Linked DNA regions of Homo sapiens: region 2 is linked to region 1. Evidence: promoter capture Hi-C in 16 types of primary human blood cells and fetal thymus (Javierre and others, 2016). All regions are on one chromosome and are shown on one strand. Each heading gives the region's core, a stretch centred on a gene start or on the middle of the fragment in contact. The rest is flanking DNA. Distances are from core to core; before and after follow the strand shown.

What was found. The method cuts DNA at HindIII sites, captures the fragments that hold promoters and counts their contacts. A CHiCAGO score of 5 or more calls a contact.
Region 2: a contact is called between a fragment that was not itself captured here and the fragment with the promoter of TMEM97 in region 1, in 1 of 17 cell types (M2 macrophages). The highest score is 5.4, in M2 macrophages.

What each region holds. Positions count from the first base shown.
Region 1 is chr17:28,314,400-28,321,696 of GRCh38, forward strand. It overlaps TMEM97 (transmembrane protein 97), which reads left to right and starts at 4,801. Exons shown (of 3, transcript NM_014573.3): 1 at 4,801-4,966. The coding sequence starts at 4,841. RefSeq lists enhancers at 3,080-3,905, 4,125-4,384, 4,865-4,924. The HindIII fragment of the contact is 1,585 bases long and covers 3,729-5,313 here.
Region 2 is chr17:27,777,973-27,785,269 of GRCh38, forward strand. It overlaps NOS2 (nitric oxide synthase 2), which reads right to left. Exons shown (of 27, transcript NM_000625.4): 6 at 4,972-5,134; 7 at 4,043-4,134; 8 at 3,064-3,205; 9 at 2,795-2,934; 10 at 910-1,084; 11 at 718-819. Among named protein-coding and RNA genes, the nearest start is that of NOS2, 19 kb to the right of the region's middle. RefSeq lists an enhancer at 5,035-5,534. The HindIII fragment of the contact is 4,802 bases long and covers 1,681-6,482 here.

The DNA.
Region 1 (7,297 bases), core at 3,551-6,050:
ACAAATTTGGCTAGGTGACATTTGGGGTTTTTTGTTTTGAGGCAGGGTCTCACTCTGTTACCCAGGCAGGAGTGTAGTAGTGTGATCACTCCTGGGTTCAAACCATCCTCCCACCTCAGCCTCTTGAGTAGCTGGGACTATAGGTGCGTACCACCACATCGGCTAATTTTTGTTATAGAAATGGGGGTCTCACTATGTTGCCAGGGCTGGATGAGATGTTTTCTGAGAAACTGTCACATTGACACCTGTACTTACCACATTTCCTGGACAAATCCTAGCCCACACTCCTCCGGCCCCATTGCCCTCCAGCAAGCAGTTATAATTAAGTTCTACAGGGAACTTAATTATAACTTCCTAAGGGAAGGGGAAGCTGGGTGGAGCGCAGAGCACACACCTAACCCACCCCAAGGTAAATTAAAAGGATATGGTACCACCATATCCTTAAAGCCATAATGGATGGAGGGTGGGAGCAGTGCTGCCAGGCCTCTCCAGCTGTGTAGTGTGCCAACCTAGCCAGACCTCTCCTGGGCCCTGGGTTTGGTCTGAAGACCCTGTGCGGGAAGGCACTGCTCTGCCCTAGGGATAGAAGACTTGGCCTGGGGCTGGGCGTTAGGATACCAGGGTTCCAGTCCCTGCCTTGTCACTCACTTTGTGACCTCGGACAAACACCTCTCTGAGTCTCAGTTTCCTCATGAGGTGTTAGGCCCTAGATATCTACAAAGGCCCTCCCAGCTCTTCATGTTCCATTTTTTTTTTTTTTTTTTTGAGACGGAGTCTCACTCTGTCACTCAGGCTAGAGTGCAGTGGTGCGATCCTGGCTCATTGCAACCTCCACCTCCCAGGTTCAAGTGATTCTCCTGCCTCAGCTTCCCATGTAGCTAGGACTACAGGTGCACGCCACTATGCCTGGCTAATTTTTGTATTTTTAGTAGAGATGGATTTTCACCATGTTGGCCAGGCCAGTCTTGAACTCCTGACCTCAGGTGATCCACCCACCTCAGCCTCCTAAAGTGCTGGGATTACAGTCCTGAGTCACCATGCCCAGCCTTTTTTTTTTTTCTGAGACAGAGTTTTGTTCTGTCGCCCAGGCTGGAGTGCAATGGTGCTATCATGACTCTGCAACCTCTGCCTCCTAGGTTCAAGTGATTCTCCTGCCTCAGTCTCCTGAGTAGCGGGGACTGTAGGTGTGCACCACCATGCCTGGCTAACTTTTGTACTTTTAGTAGAGTTTGGGTTTCACCATGTTGGTGAGGCTGGTCTGGAACTCCTGACCTCAGGTAATCCACCTGCCTTGGCCTCTGCTGGGATTACACGTGTGAACCATTGCGCCCAGCCTTCATGTTCTCATTCAAGTGAATGGTTTGGAGAAGTGAGAGAGGAGCTGTATACAAAAGTCCCCCTTATCCGTGGGGGAACATGTTCCAAGACCCCCAGTGGAGGCCTGAAACCATAGGTAGTACTGAACCATATTGTTTTTTCCTATACATACAAACCTATGATAAAGTTTAATTTATAAATCAAGCACAGTAAGACATTAACAATAAAATAGAACAAGTATAACAATATACTGTAATAAATAGTATGTGAATGTGCTCTCTCTCAAAATATCTTACTGTTCTCTAGATCTTAGCAACCTCAGCATTATTTCCTAAATCAAAAATCTTCACCTTTTCACATAAAGGAACTTTATGGTTTCTCATTGGCATATCCGAATTGTCACATCGCTACCATTGCACTTTAGGGCCTTTGAGAGGGGTCTCACTGTTGTGGAGGCTGGAGTGCAGTGAGGTGATCACAGCTCACTGCTGCCTCAAACTCCTGGGCTCAAGAGATCCTCCCACCTCAGCCTCCTAAGTAGCTGGGACTACAGGCAAGCCACCATGCCCAGCTAATTTTTTTTTAAGAGATGGGGTCTTGCTATGTTGCCCAGGCTGGTCTTAAACTCCTGGCCTCAAGGGGTCCTCCTGCCTCGGCCTCCCAAAGTGATTACAGGTATGAGCCACCACACCTGGCCCACTATTAAATAACATAAGGCTTACTTGAACACAAGCACCGTGATAACTCAATGGTCAATTTGATAACCAAGATGGCTACTAAGTGACTAACAGGAGTAGTTAGTCTGGGAACAGAGTGGAGTCTGAGAAAGAGCAAACTGCCTTTAAAGATTTATGGTGTGAACAAAATGGGCTCTCTCCTCAGGTGACCTAAGGTTTCCCAGGCATTGACTTTTTTTTTTTTTCCTGGAAAAAAAGCAGCAGCTAATTCTGAGTCCTCCCTCCTGAGCCCCTGGTAGAGTGTTCTCTCCATGGAGCCCGGCTCCCCCCTCGGAGCAGGACAAACAGCCCTGAACACCCCTGCCTCCCTGTGGCTGCCGGCTCTGTGGTCCTGGGCAAGGCTGACCTGAGACTTGGGGGACGCCAGAACTGTGTGCCCTCACGATGCTCAGCCACCCATGCTGTTCATCCCCTGCTCCCCACCCAAAGACCTCCACATTTCTCCTACTGTCTCCTTCCAACCTGCTCCTCCTCCTCTCCAGCCAAACCCCTCCACTGTTACCTCCCCCAGTAACTGGCACTTGGCTGAGGACTCAGCTTCCCCACAGCCCTCTCCAGCGCAGGCTATTCACCTTCTCGCACCCTTCAAGGTCAGGATAAGCGGCCTCCTCCCTCCGCAAGGCCATGTCCACACAGTTTCCCCTCCACTCTCATCCCATGCTCACCTTCCTTCTGGTTACTCCCCCGTGTGCAGTGGCATTTTCGCCACCACCACCCTGGGTGGCCTTCCCTTGACCTCATCTCCAAAGACCTTCCCCTCCACTCCATTTCAGCCGCACACTCCCACGGGCAGAACCTCTTCCTGACCCCAGGAATTCAGGTATTGCACGCCCTCCTCATAAGCTCCCACCCTTCCGGCCCAGTGACTCCCATCACGCTGGCACGTGTTCCTCAGCAGGCCTCCACTGTCTCCCTGTCTTACAGCCCCCTTTGGCCTCACCTCTCCCTCTCCCCCTACCTAGCTTGAACTGCAACCTTCTGCACCTCAATCACTCTTCTTCAGCTCTTCAAAGCCACCTTTCGCTTTTCTGAACCCAAACTCTGTAGGGGTCCAACAGCCTTCTTCTGGGTAGACCCCGCACTAGAGAAATGCAAAGCACACAGCCTAAGAGATTGGGGCCTCCGGGTCAGCGGCCCCCCACCTCAGCTGGGCCTTCAACACTGCCATAATCCCTCTGTCCTAGCCCACAGCGCCCCAAGGGAAGGGGAAGCTGGGCGGAGCGCAGTGCACCCACCTAACCCACCCCAATCCTTCCATTCCCTCCGCCTCCTCCAGGGCTTTGAGCCGCATTTCCTGCTCTTCTCGAGTAGGGGTAACCTCTCCCACTGTCAAAACTAAACTAGCTCAAGTCTTTCTCACCTGCAAAATAAACTCTCGAGTGCATCTCTCTCCAGCTACTGCCCCATGTCTTCTCCCCTTCGTGACCAGCTGTCTACACTTCCTGCCTCCATTTCCCCACTTTCTTACTCCCTGGCTCCTGCCCCCACGACACAACTGTTCCCCACAGGGCCACAGGCGGGCATCACTCAGTGTTGACAGGCTGCCCCTCCCTGTGACATAGCCCCCTGCTAGTACGCTCCTATCTCAGTCCCCTCCTCCCATGACCTGAGGCTGGAGCTCCCCCAGGATCTCTCCCAGGCCCTCTGCTCGCCATCAAAGGCGGATGCCTCACAAGCTTACGACTCCAGACAGGCTCACCCAACTGCCTCCTCCACCCAACGCTGCAGCCCACTCAAGGTCCACGTAGTCCAAGCTGCATTCCTTCCTCGCACTCCCTTGCCCTGTGTCCCCTCTTAGCAAATGGCAGCCTCGGCGATCCTGCCCCGAGACAGGCCTGCGCCCAGCGTGGAGATGAACATCAGTATTTGCTGAACGTGTAAACGAATCCTTGACCTTCCCTCATGCTCCACAGCCGGTGAGGATTCCTGTCCATTTTACTGCCTCCTACGTCCCTCGAGTCCTCCCCTCTGCTTCTTTGTTCACCGCGGCCAGCTGCCTCCCCAGACCCGCAACCCCGGCTGGGCCGGGAACCTGCACCGCGGCGCTCGTGCCCCGCTCTGCGACCCCTGCTCCGTGACGGCCGCACTGCACCGGGGTACCGCGGCCCAGCACAGGCGCTGGTCACTAGTACACGAACTAGCTAGGACTACAGGTGCACACCACCACACCTGGCTAATTTTTTATTTTTTGTAGAGATAATGTCTTACTAAGTTACCCAGGCTGGTCTTCTGGGCTCAAGCCATCCTCCTGCCTCGGGCTCCCAAAGTGCAGACATTACAGGCATGACCCACCGTGCACAGCGTCAGCTTTATTTTTTTAATGCTGACTTACTGCAGAAGGCCCAAGGGCCAGTGCAGTTTTCATACTGCTGTTGTAGTGGCGAACGGAGCCACGAGGGAAGGGAGCGCCGCCGGCAGCTGCCGGGACACCAGGATACCACGCGGCCAGCACCGAAACGCTAGGCTCGCGCTCACAACCGCAATCTACACTGAGTAGCCGCGCGCCGAACGGCGTGACTAAGCCCCGCCCACACGGCGCTCCTGGCGGCCAATGGAAATGGCTTACGAGACGCCTTCTCCACGCGCTATACTTATACGGACCAATGGGTGCGCCCTGTGGGGAGTGCCGCCCCCTGTCCACGAGCCTCCTCTTCTCGCCAGCCAATGGAAGCGGTCTGCCTAGCCCTCGCGGGGGCAAGGCGGCGACCGAGGCGCGTGGGTCTGGGAAGGCGCGCGGATTTGGCCCCTCTTCTCACATCAGCGGGTCCAGGCCCAACCGACAGACTATGGGGGCTCCGGCAACCAGGCGCTGCGTGGAGTGGCTGCTGGGCCTCTACTTCCTCAGCCACATCCCCATCACCCTGTTCATGGACCTGCAGGCGGTGCTGCCGCGCGAGCTCTACCCAGTCGAGGTGAGGGGCGCCCCTCTTATCCCGGCCCGCTGAGGCTCTCCCGGCGCTGCGTCCACAGGGCCTTCACCTCCTCCGCGCTCGCGCACTCTGGGTTCCAGTTGCCTCTCTCGGGTCCTGCCCATGCCTCCCCCGCTCCTAACCCAACTTTAGTTCGGTGTTTTCCTCGGGCTTTGTCTCTATCCCAGCCCCTTCTCCCAAGCGGCGGGGGCGAACGCTTTGTTTCCTTTAAAGTCACTTCTTCCCTGGGTTTAAGGTTTCCCGCGATTCCACCTCTGGCCGGTTGTCAGTGTCTGAGGGAAGTAGTCTGGATGAAGTGGTGTCCAAAGTCACATGTTAGGTTTGCTTTAAGCTTCTGGTTTTTTGTTTGTTTGTTTGGAAGGGCTTTAAAATACCAGTCTGATCCCAAAGAAAAAATCCGAGTAGAAATAGACCTGTCTGAAGGTTTAGCACCTTGGTTGGTGCAGCTGGGGCGTTCACAGATCGTCACTGCTTCGAGATCAGGTTCCAGCAACTTCCAGAGCTCAGGAGTAAATTGCCATCTTTTCAGATTGGCTCTTCAATATTGGGTTCGAGTAACAATGATCTCCTGAGTAAAAATAAAGGTGAAAATCCCGATTTCCTGGTTGTTGGAGAGCATTCTTTCAACCCCAAACTCTGCTTTAATGCTTTGTTTTTTTCTTCAAAGCTATAGTTTTAGTTTCCCGGTTCGTTGAGGTTTTTTTCTCGTATCTGGACCCTGTGACCTTCTTCCATGGAATTCCTGTCCTCAGTTTTGTTTCTCCATCTTATCTATAACTGTAGGCAGGACTGACTTGTCTACCCGAAGATTTTATTTTGCGTCTGTTTTTCCTTAAATGCTTTTTATCTGCCGAGGAGGGGTTCTTTACCTGAGGGTCATGAACTCCCAAAAATGGGTGCAAGTGTGTGTGCCTTTTGTTTCCTGCAAGGAGAATATAGCTTCCATCGACTTTTCAAGGGGCCTAACTCTCCCAAAAAGGCCACGGCTCAAGAATGTTCTACCACTCCCATAAGTCACTCTTTTTTGTTTGCTTCTAGAACCAAACACAACTGGAAGACCTCTGACCTCCTTTTGCATGGGAAAAGCGTAGGTAGCGTGTAGCAAGTTGCAGTCTGGGGACTTGGTTCTTCCAAGAACTGGAGGTGACTTGGGCAGGTCAGGGCTCTATATCCTCCTCAACTGTTGAGAGAGTTGAGTTAAATTATAAGCTCAAACATATACAGGGTGGGTTAGTTTTCATATTGCTGTTGTAGTTACCACAAATGTAGTGATTTAACAGATTTATTTGTTTACAGTTCTGGAGGCCAGAAGTTCACAATGAAATCTTACAGTGCTCAAATCAAGGCAGGGCTCACTCCTTCTGAGGGCTCCAGGGGAGAATCTGGTTCTTGCCTCTTCCATTTTCTGGTGGCTGCCAATGTTCCTTGGCTTGTGTTCACGTCACTTCAATCTCTGCTTCGGGTCATCACATTGCCTCCCTTTCTGTAGTCAGAGTTCCCTCTGCTTCGCTTTTATAAAGACACTTGTCATACATTCAGGGCCCACCAGATAACCCAGAAAATCTCCCATTTCAAAATCCTTAATTACATCTGCAAAGTCCCTTTTGCCAAATAAAGTAATAGTCACAGGTTCCAGGGATTAGGATGTGGTTATCTTTGGGGGCCATTATTCAGCCTACTACAGGGCCAGAGAGTACAGACTCTTCCCAAAGACCGAAGAGGTCATCGCAGCTCTGCAGTAACCATTAATTGCCCTGAAGAAAGGAAAATCTACTACAGTGTTGGCCTATCTGTGGTTTTTGAAACCTGTGTGGCCAGCAATACTCAGACAGGCTGCCTGTTTACAATCTCTGGTGTTATAGGACCTTTTAATACTTGGTAATTAGCCTGCTACTCCATGTAGCCATTCCAGACTTCACAGCTGTTGTCTTCTTTATCCTTCCTGGATGTGCCATTCTCACAAGCCCGTCTTGCTCACCCCTAACAAAATACACTTAAAAGGTGCTCAGCATCATATCATAAAGATCCCATTTAAATGTTTACATTTGATAAAATTTTCTCAGTCTTTTTTTTAGAAACAGGGTCCTTTGTCACCCAGGCTTGGCGTGCTGTGATGCAGTCATGGCTTACCACAGCCTTGAACCTGAGCACAAGAGATCCTCCCACCTGTCTCCTGAGTAGCTAGGACTATAGGTGCACACCACCACACCTGGCTAATTTTTTATTTTTTGTAGAGATGATGTCTTACTGTGTTACCCAGGCTGGTCTTCTGGGCTCAAGCCATCCTCCTGCCTCGGGCTCCCAAAGTGCTGA
Region 2 (7,297 bases), core at 2,832-5,331, 540 kb before region 1:
TCAAGGCTGCAGTGATCATGCCACTGCATTCCAGCCTGGGTGACCGAGTGAGATGATGTCTCAAAAAAAAAAAAAGGAAAAGAAAGAAGAAAGTCGATGTCCTATATAATGCCAGGAACTGTATGAGGAAGTATTTTGAAGAAAAATAAAATGGTTAAAGGACTAACACAGAGAGACAGGTTGGCAGTGGGGTGAGGGCGTCATTTTACATGGCACGGTCAGGGAGGCCTTCTTTTTTTTTTGAGCGGAGTCTTGCTCTGTCGCCCAGCCAGGCTGAAGCAGTTGGGGGATGAGGAAGCACAATGAGATCTCTCCATAGTTTTGCTGTAGAAAGGAGCAGAAGGGTGAGGCAGTGGCTGGAGGGAGCCTGAGGTTTGGCAGGAGTTATGTGGTTAGCTATTCATTTCTTTCTTTGAAATGGGGCTAAGAGAGCCTGTCTGTACACTGCTGGGAATGACTCAGCAGAGAGAGAGACATTGATGATACAGAGAGAGAAGAGGAAAATTTTTGGGAGTAAAGTCCTTGAGCGATTGAGAGAGGACAGAATTCAGTGCTCAAGTACAGGGATTGAACAGTCTTGGGAGGTGAGGAGCTGCCTGTTGCTGGACCTCTAGAGTGAGCAAGGGGGCTTACTTATAAATTAAGCATCACATAAGTCACTGGATCAGTTAAGCTTCTCACCAAAAAGTCTTCAGACTCACAAAACTCCAGACATACCTGGAAACTATGGAGCACAGCAATGTTGATCTCAACGACAGCCTGGTCTTTCCAGAGCGAGGCCAGCTTGTGCGTTTCCAGGCCCATTCTCCTGCCCACTTCCTACAGAGGCAGAGTGATAGCGGCGAGTCGGTCCCTGAAGCCACCCCCAGGCCCACACCTTCATCTGGCCAGCTGGGCTGGCTGGGTTACCTCCAGGATGTTGTAGCGCTGGACGTCACAGAAGTCCCGGACTCCGATCTCTGTGCCCATGTACCAGCCATTGAAGGGGCACCCTGGGAACTCCAGGCCGCCCACCTCAAGCAGCATGTTGGCCACTGCAGGCAGGGCGTACCACTTTAGCTCCAGTTCCCGAAACCACTCGTATCTGGCAAAAAGGTAGACACAATTTAACTGGGGCCTTCCTTATTTTTATTTTATTATTATTTTTTTTTTAGTGACTTGGTCTTGCTCTGTTGCTCATGCTGGAGTGCAGTGCAGTGGCACAATCATAACTCACTGCAGCCTTTAACTCCTGGGCCCAAGCGATCCTCCTGCCTCAGCCTCCCAAGTAGCTAGGACTGCAGGCATGTGCCATCTTGCTCAGCTAATTTTTTTCCTTATTATTATTATTATTATTATTATTATTATTATTATTATTTTATAGAGTCTCACTATGTTGCCCAGGCTGGTCTCGAACTACTGGCCTCAAGTAATCCTCCTGCCTCAGCCTCCCAAAGTGCTGGAATTACAGGTGTGAACTACCTTGTCTGGCGCTGGGGGCTTCACTTTTGCACCTTTGGCCTCCCACTGACCCCCCACCTGCCCACCAAGAAAAAAGCTTCAGAAAGAGTCAAACAAGAAAACTCCTTTCCAAGAGTTGATTCTGAGTTAATCCCAGCCAGAGAGACGTATTGGACACATAGGATGCCATTTATTAAATTATGCATTCATGCACTCATTCATTCATGCAAACCTATATTAAGCTTCAAGTATGTGCCAGGCTCTGTGCTAAATGCTGAGAATGCAACACAACAGAGCAATTAAGGACTCCAGTGTCAGAAGCTGGGGTTCAAGTTCTGCCTCTGACTAGCAGTGTGAACTTGGGATGTTTTTTAGCCTCTCTGAGCCTCAACATCCCCATTATCAGAATAGAAACATAGCATCAAATTCATGGAATTATTATAAAGCTAGTAATATCATTCACTTGTATATTCAGTTATTCCACAAATATTTATAACTGAGCACCTACTATGTGCCAGGCACTCTGCTAGCTGTTGGGTATACATTGTGAACAGAAAAGAAAAGATCTCCACCCTCAAGGAACTTGTAGTCTAATGTCTAGACTCTAGATTATAAATGGGTAAACAAATATATAAGAAATAAAAACAAGATGATGTGTTAGACTGAGGGTAAGGGGGCCTCCTCTAGCTTGAGTGGTCAGAGAGCCTTCTCAGAGGAGGTGACATTATAGGAAATACCTTTTGACAAGAAGAAATGAGCCTAGAAAAATTCTGAGGAAAAGGCATGTCATGCAAAGGGAACAGGGAGTACAAAGGCTGTGAGTCAGGACTGAATTTGGTTCATTCAACGGCCAGGAAGAAGAGCCCAGCCCAATGTCTGCTACAGAGTAAATCTCAATACGCAGAGGTATTTTTGCAATTATGAGAACTGCCTAGAGCAGGGGCTGGGCCAGTAGGACTCTTGAAGTCACTGCAGCCCTATATGATCCCGACAGGAGAGGGACAGCTAAGAGCATTGGCAGGAGGGCAGAAGAGGCCTGGGCTGCTCCTTTCTAGAATCTCAATGCATTCCTCTCCTGCAGTCACTGCTTCTCAAGCTCCTGGGGCCCCATCCGCCTAAGCCTCTGCTTCCCCTCAGCATCAACACATCCACCTGTCTGAGGCCCGAGGTGCCAGTGCAGAATGGCTGCAGAATGCAACAGTGACAAAAGAGTCCTTGAAGGCCAGCCCCCTGAGTGTCACCTGCTGCTGGCTGGGCTTTAGGGAAGGTATGGGGAAGGCTGGAGCCGCACTTAGGAAAGGAGAAGGGCTGTGTGTTGACTCGCCCTTGCCCCCAGCACCCTCAGCCTACTTACTTGGGATGTTCCATGGCCACCTCAAGCACAAGGTCAGGTGGGATTTCGAAGAGCTCAGGGTCACGGCCATTGGCCTGCAGGACCAGGGGGACCACATCGAAGCGGCCGTACTTGGGCTTCCAGCCCAGGTCGATGCACAGCTGGGGAACAAGACGGGCCCTGTGAGTCTGTAAGCCCGGGCTGCGTGTCTCCTCTGGGCTCCACTCTGTCACTCGCTCACCACGGGGCTCCCCGCCCCAATGGCCGGTGGCTGAGGCTGGGCCGGGTACCTGAGTGAATTCCACGTTGGCAGGGTCCCCTCTGATGCTGCCATCTGGCATCTGGTAGCCAGCATAGCGGATGAGCTGAGCATTCCACACCCGGAAGTCGTGCTTGCCATCACTCCGCTGGGGGAACACGGTGATGGCCGACCTTCCCAGGACAGGAACAGTACTGTTTACCACCTAGCCCTGGTGGGGGCCCAGCCATCCTGCACTGGCCCTACCTCCCTCTCCACCCTACCTGCTCTGCAGCCCCTGATCCCAAGCTGACTGAGCCAGCCTCCTGACATGCCTTCTCCTGCTGCCCTCCCTCAAGACCCAGGGTCCACCCCCTCAAGGGGGCCTTCCCATCCATCAGGCAGGGTTAGCTGATCTGCCAGTCTTTCCCTCACTGCCTATGTCTCCGTCCTTGCAGTTGAGTTAGCTGGTTGCCTGTCTAGTGCAGGTCATAGGCTCACACCAGCTGGAGCAGCATCTTAGGGTCCTAGTCACTCTTCCTCCTACCCCCCCATACCCCATCTTCCCCCTGCTCTCCCAGCCTTGTCCTGTGTTGAGTTGCATTAGGTAGGCACTGAGTGTTTGCTGAACAAAAAGATGAATGAATGACCAAATGAGCTGTTCAGTCCTATTAGCTTTGACCTCGTTGGTTGGGAGAGGAAGGTAACCTCTTAATGTCCCATGCCTTCTAAAAAATGGGAGCCCCAACCCTGAATAGTGAAGCAGTTACTTCTTAAAGATCCTCCATCCCCTCCAAGTGGCTCCACATCAGAAGGAAACCAAGGGCATGGGTTGCCGATGGGAGCTGAGCTCACAGGGGCTGGGCTCACTACTGGAAGTCCCCGAAGAAGCCTGAGTCTTTCTCTTTTTTCTTTCTCCCTGGTTTCTCCTGGAGCTGGAGATGCCTCCCCTAGACCCAAGTGCTGCATCTTTTGGCTAAGATTCTCAGGCAAGGCAAGCCCCTCTGCAGCCCTGGGAAATGTGCACCGACCTGATGTTGCCATTGTTGGTGGAGTAACGCACGTGTCTGCAGATGTGTTCAAACATTTCCCGGGCAGTGGAACAGCTGCGGGCATCGAAGACCTGCAACAGCCCATCCAGACCATGCCCATCAAAGACTGGGTAGACAGAGGCTTTGAGGCTGATCAGAAGTCACTGGGAATCAATAGTGCAGCCGAAACACTCAACACACAAACACTCAACACCATGCCGAAGAGTGCAGCCTCCAATCTGCACCTGCCACTCAACACCATGCAGAAGAATTCAGCCTCCCATCTGCACCACCGCTCCCATTTCATGGCTGCCCTCTAGGGGAGCACAGGCAACCCCACTCAGAAGACCCCAGCAAACCCAGAATTCCAAGAAAACCTGACTTGAAAGCACCATGAATCGGGATTGCCACAGCCCCAGGCTAGGTCCTTTCCCACACCAGCACATACTACACAGCCAGAGTTGGTTTCACTGGCAGTTCTAATCGATTTCTCTGTCCAAGTGCTTTTGATATTATCCTGCAACAAATGACTCCCCAACAAAAAGATGGCCTAGGAGGCTAGGCTAAATAAAATGTTCTCTTGGAGCCAAGAATTCAAGCATTGGAGGAAAACAACACATCTTGCAGCACCACGGCCTCAAGTGTAATAAAAACAAGGTCGTGGTTTACTCTAATGATGGCATTTAGTCTCCTGAATTTAACACAATAGAGAATGGGCAGCTAGAAACCCTGGTGCTGAAACAGGATTCAAGGCTTCTAGAGAGGGACCCTAGGTGCCCCATCTCAACATTTGGGAATGTAAGAGAGGATCCAGGGCCATGGCTTCAGTCCCAGGAGGCCTGGGCACAGCTCTGTGTGGCTGTTCCAAGCCATCTGCTCAGGGCCTGGCCGCCTCCAGCTCTCTCCCGCTCAAGTCTAAGGAAGTTCACCTGCAGGTTGGACCACTGGATCCTCCCAATGCAGCGTGGGGCATTGCGCCAGGCCTGCTTGGTGGCGAAGATGAGCTCATCTCCCGTCAGTTGGTAGGTTCCTGTTGTTTCTATCTCCTTTGTTACCGCTTCCACCCTGGCCAGATGTTCCTCTATTTTTGCCCTGGGGGACAGGAAGACAGCAGGAAGATCAACAATGAGATGGCCTTACATGGGGATTAATTCAATCCACAGAAGCAGGAACTGAAATAGGACATCAGAAGGGCAAGATGCCTCTCACCAGAGACAGCTCCCTCCAGGGCTGGCTTTGGGGACCTCACACTTAGCCTAGAAGCACCCCACGCTCAATGCTCTGCTGTCCCCATCTTGAAATTCTTAATCATTTTAAAATAAAGAGCCCACATTTTCATTTTTACATTGAGTCCTATAAATACTACCTAGCCAGTCCTGAGCCCATGGGAACACTGCTTATTTTCAGGTGCTTTTTCTTTAATCATATTCATCTCAGTAAGGGGTGCAATCCTTCTCAGACACTTGCAAGCCTGGGAGGAGTGTCCCATCCAGCCATAGCAATGTCCTGCCTCTCCATTAGTTAGTAGAGTGCCCTCCTTCCTTGCCATGACTGAGAGATGAGCCAGTCCCTCCGTGGCAGCTCCGGTGTACTGGGTACCCACATGAGCCAGGCACTGGGTGAAGCAACCCACAGGCAGGGTCTCACTGAGTCTGGGAGGGAGGTATTTTTGCATCTATTTTATAGCCAAGGATCTCAAGGCTCTAGGAGGTTAAGCACCAGGCCCAGGAACATAAGTACAGGAAAGAGCAAAGTCAGGACTCAGACCCAGGTCGCCCTGATGCCAAGCCCAGGTTCTTAACTGTCAGCAACGTGACCTTCCATCTTCCACCCTACGGGGACAGTAAGCCCAAAGATGTTGAGGGCCTGCCCACCCTTCTCAGGAGCCTGGTCAAGCCAGGACTGGGACCTGGCTATCGGAGCTCAGTCTGCAGGGTCCCAGGGCCTGGCCAGAAAAGAGCTGCCCACGTCATAGTCTCTCTAAACCGTGCTGTTCCTCAGCCTCAGAATTGCTCATTCAGTCACTCCATATGCAATTCTAAACTTGCTTCTCTCCTCCCCTCCCAGACTTCAAAAATATCCCAAAGGGAGGGAGGGACTCAGTCAGAAAGGCTTTGAAACACACACACACACACACACACACACACTACCACCACCACCAACAACAACAACCTTGAGATTTCCAGTCAGCACCAAAGCCTTTTGAAACAGCATCAAAACTATTTAAAGAATGAACTCCTGATTAAGGAGAGTGGGTAACTCTGAACAAAATGGCCTTTCTGTGGATGAAGAGTGTCTCGACAACTTTTCCTTGATTAGAGAAAAAAAGCACAAAGACAAAACACTGATGATATTTATCCCCAAGGACACCCCTGCCATAAGGAGCTGCTGGGTGAGGTGGGAACCACCCCACTGCTGGGAGACCTCCCTCCCCAAACAAAGCTTCCAGCAATATTCCCCCCTCTGCACCTGAGCATGACAACAGTAATGATCACCATAACACCCACACCACCAACACACATGGTGGTCAGCACGTGCATATGCAAGAAAGGATTATTTTTTACATTCACATCCAATTCCTTCAGAGTTTTAGATGTGATAGCCATTTTCATATAGTCATTTTCTAAGGCATTAGAAATGCTATGATGTCTATGAGCTCTGAAAAAAAGGAGTGGCTTTCATCATCAGTGAACAGATTTAAATGTAACATGCAGCAAGTCACAATCTCTAAATATGCTATGATTCTTCAGATACAAAAGGCCACTGAACCTGCTCAGCTGGTCATGTCTTAGATTGCCAGGGTCCCTGTGAGGAGAGGCTGCCATTCCCCGTTCACACCCCCAGGTTCTCTTGCTCAGGGAAGCAGGGGTTCAAGGTATGTACTTGTGACTTGGAAAAATACAATTTTCCTCTGGGAGAAGCAAATGGGTTCCAACACCACCAAGCATGGCCCTGTAGCCCTGCTGGGCTTCTGAACACCCGCCCAATTGCCTTCCACACAACAGCAAGGCCTCCCACGTCCAGAATAGAGTTGGGAACCTGCAAGGCCACACAGCTAGGTACTAGAGCATTGATGGGAAAAGCAAGGGCTCAGGCACCAGCTGCCTAGGTTCGAATCCCCACTCTGGGGCTTCGAAGGGTGTGACTTTGAGCAAGGTACATCTCTTCTGTGGATTTCAGTTGCCTTGTCTGTAAGATGAGGATAACAATAATACCAATCTCATAGTGTCATGGTGCACACGTGCTTTATGCTAA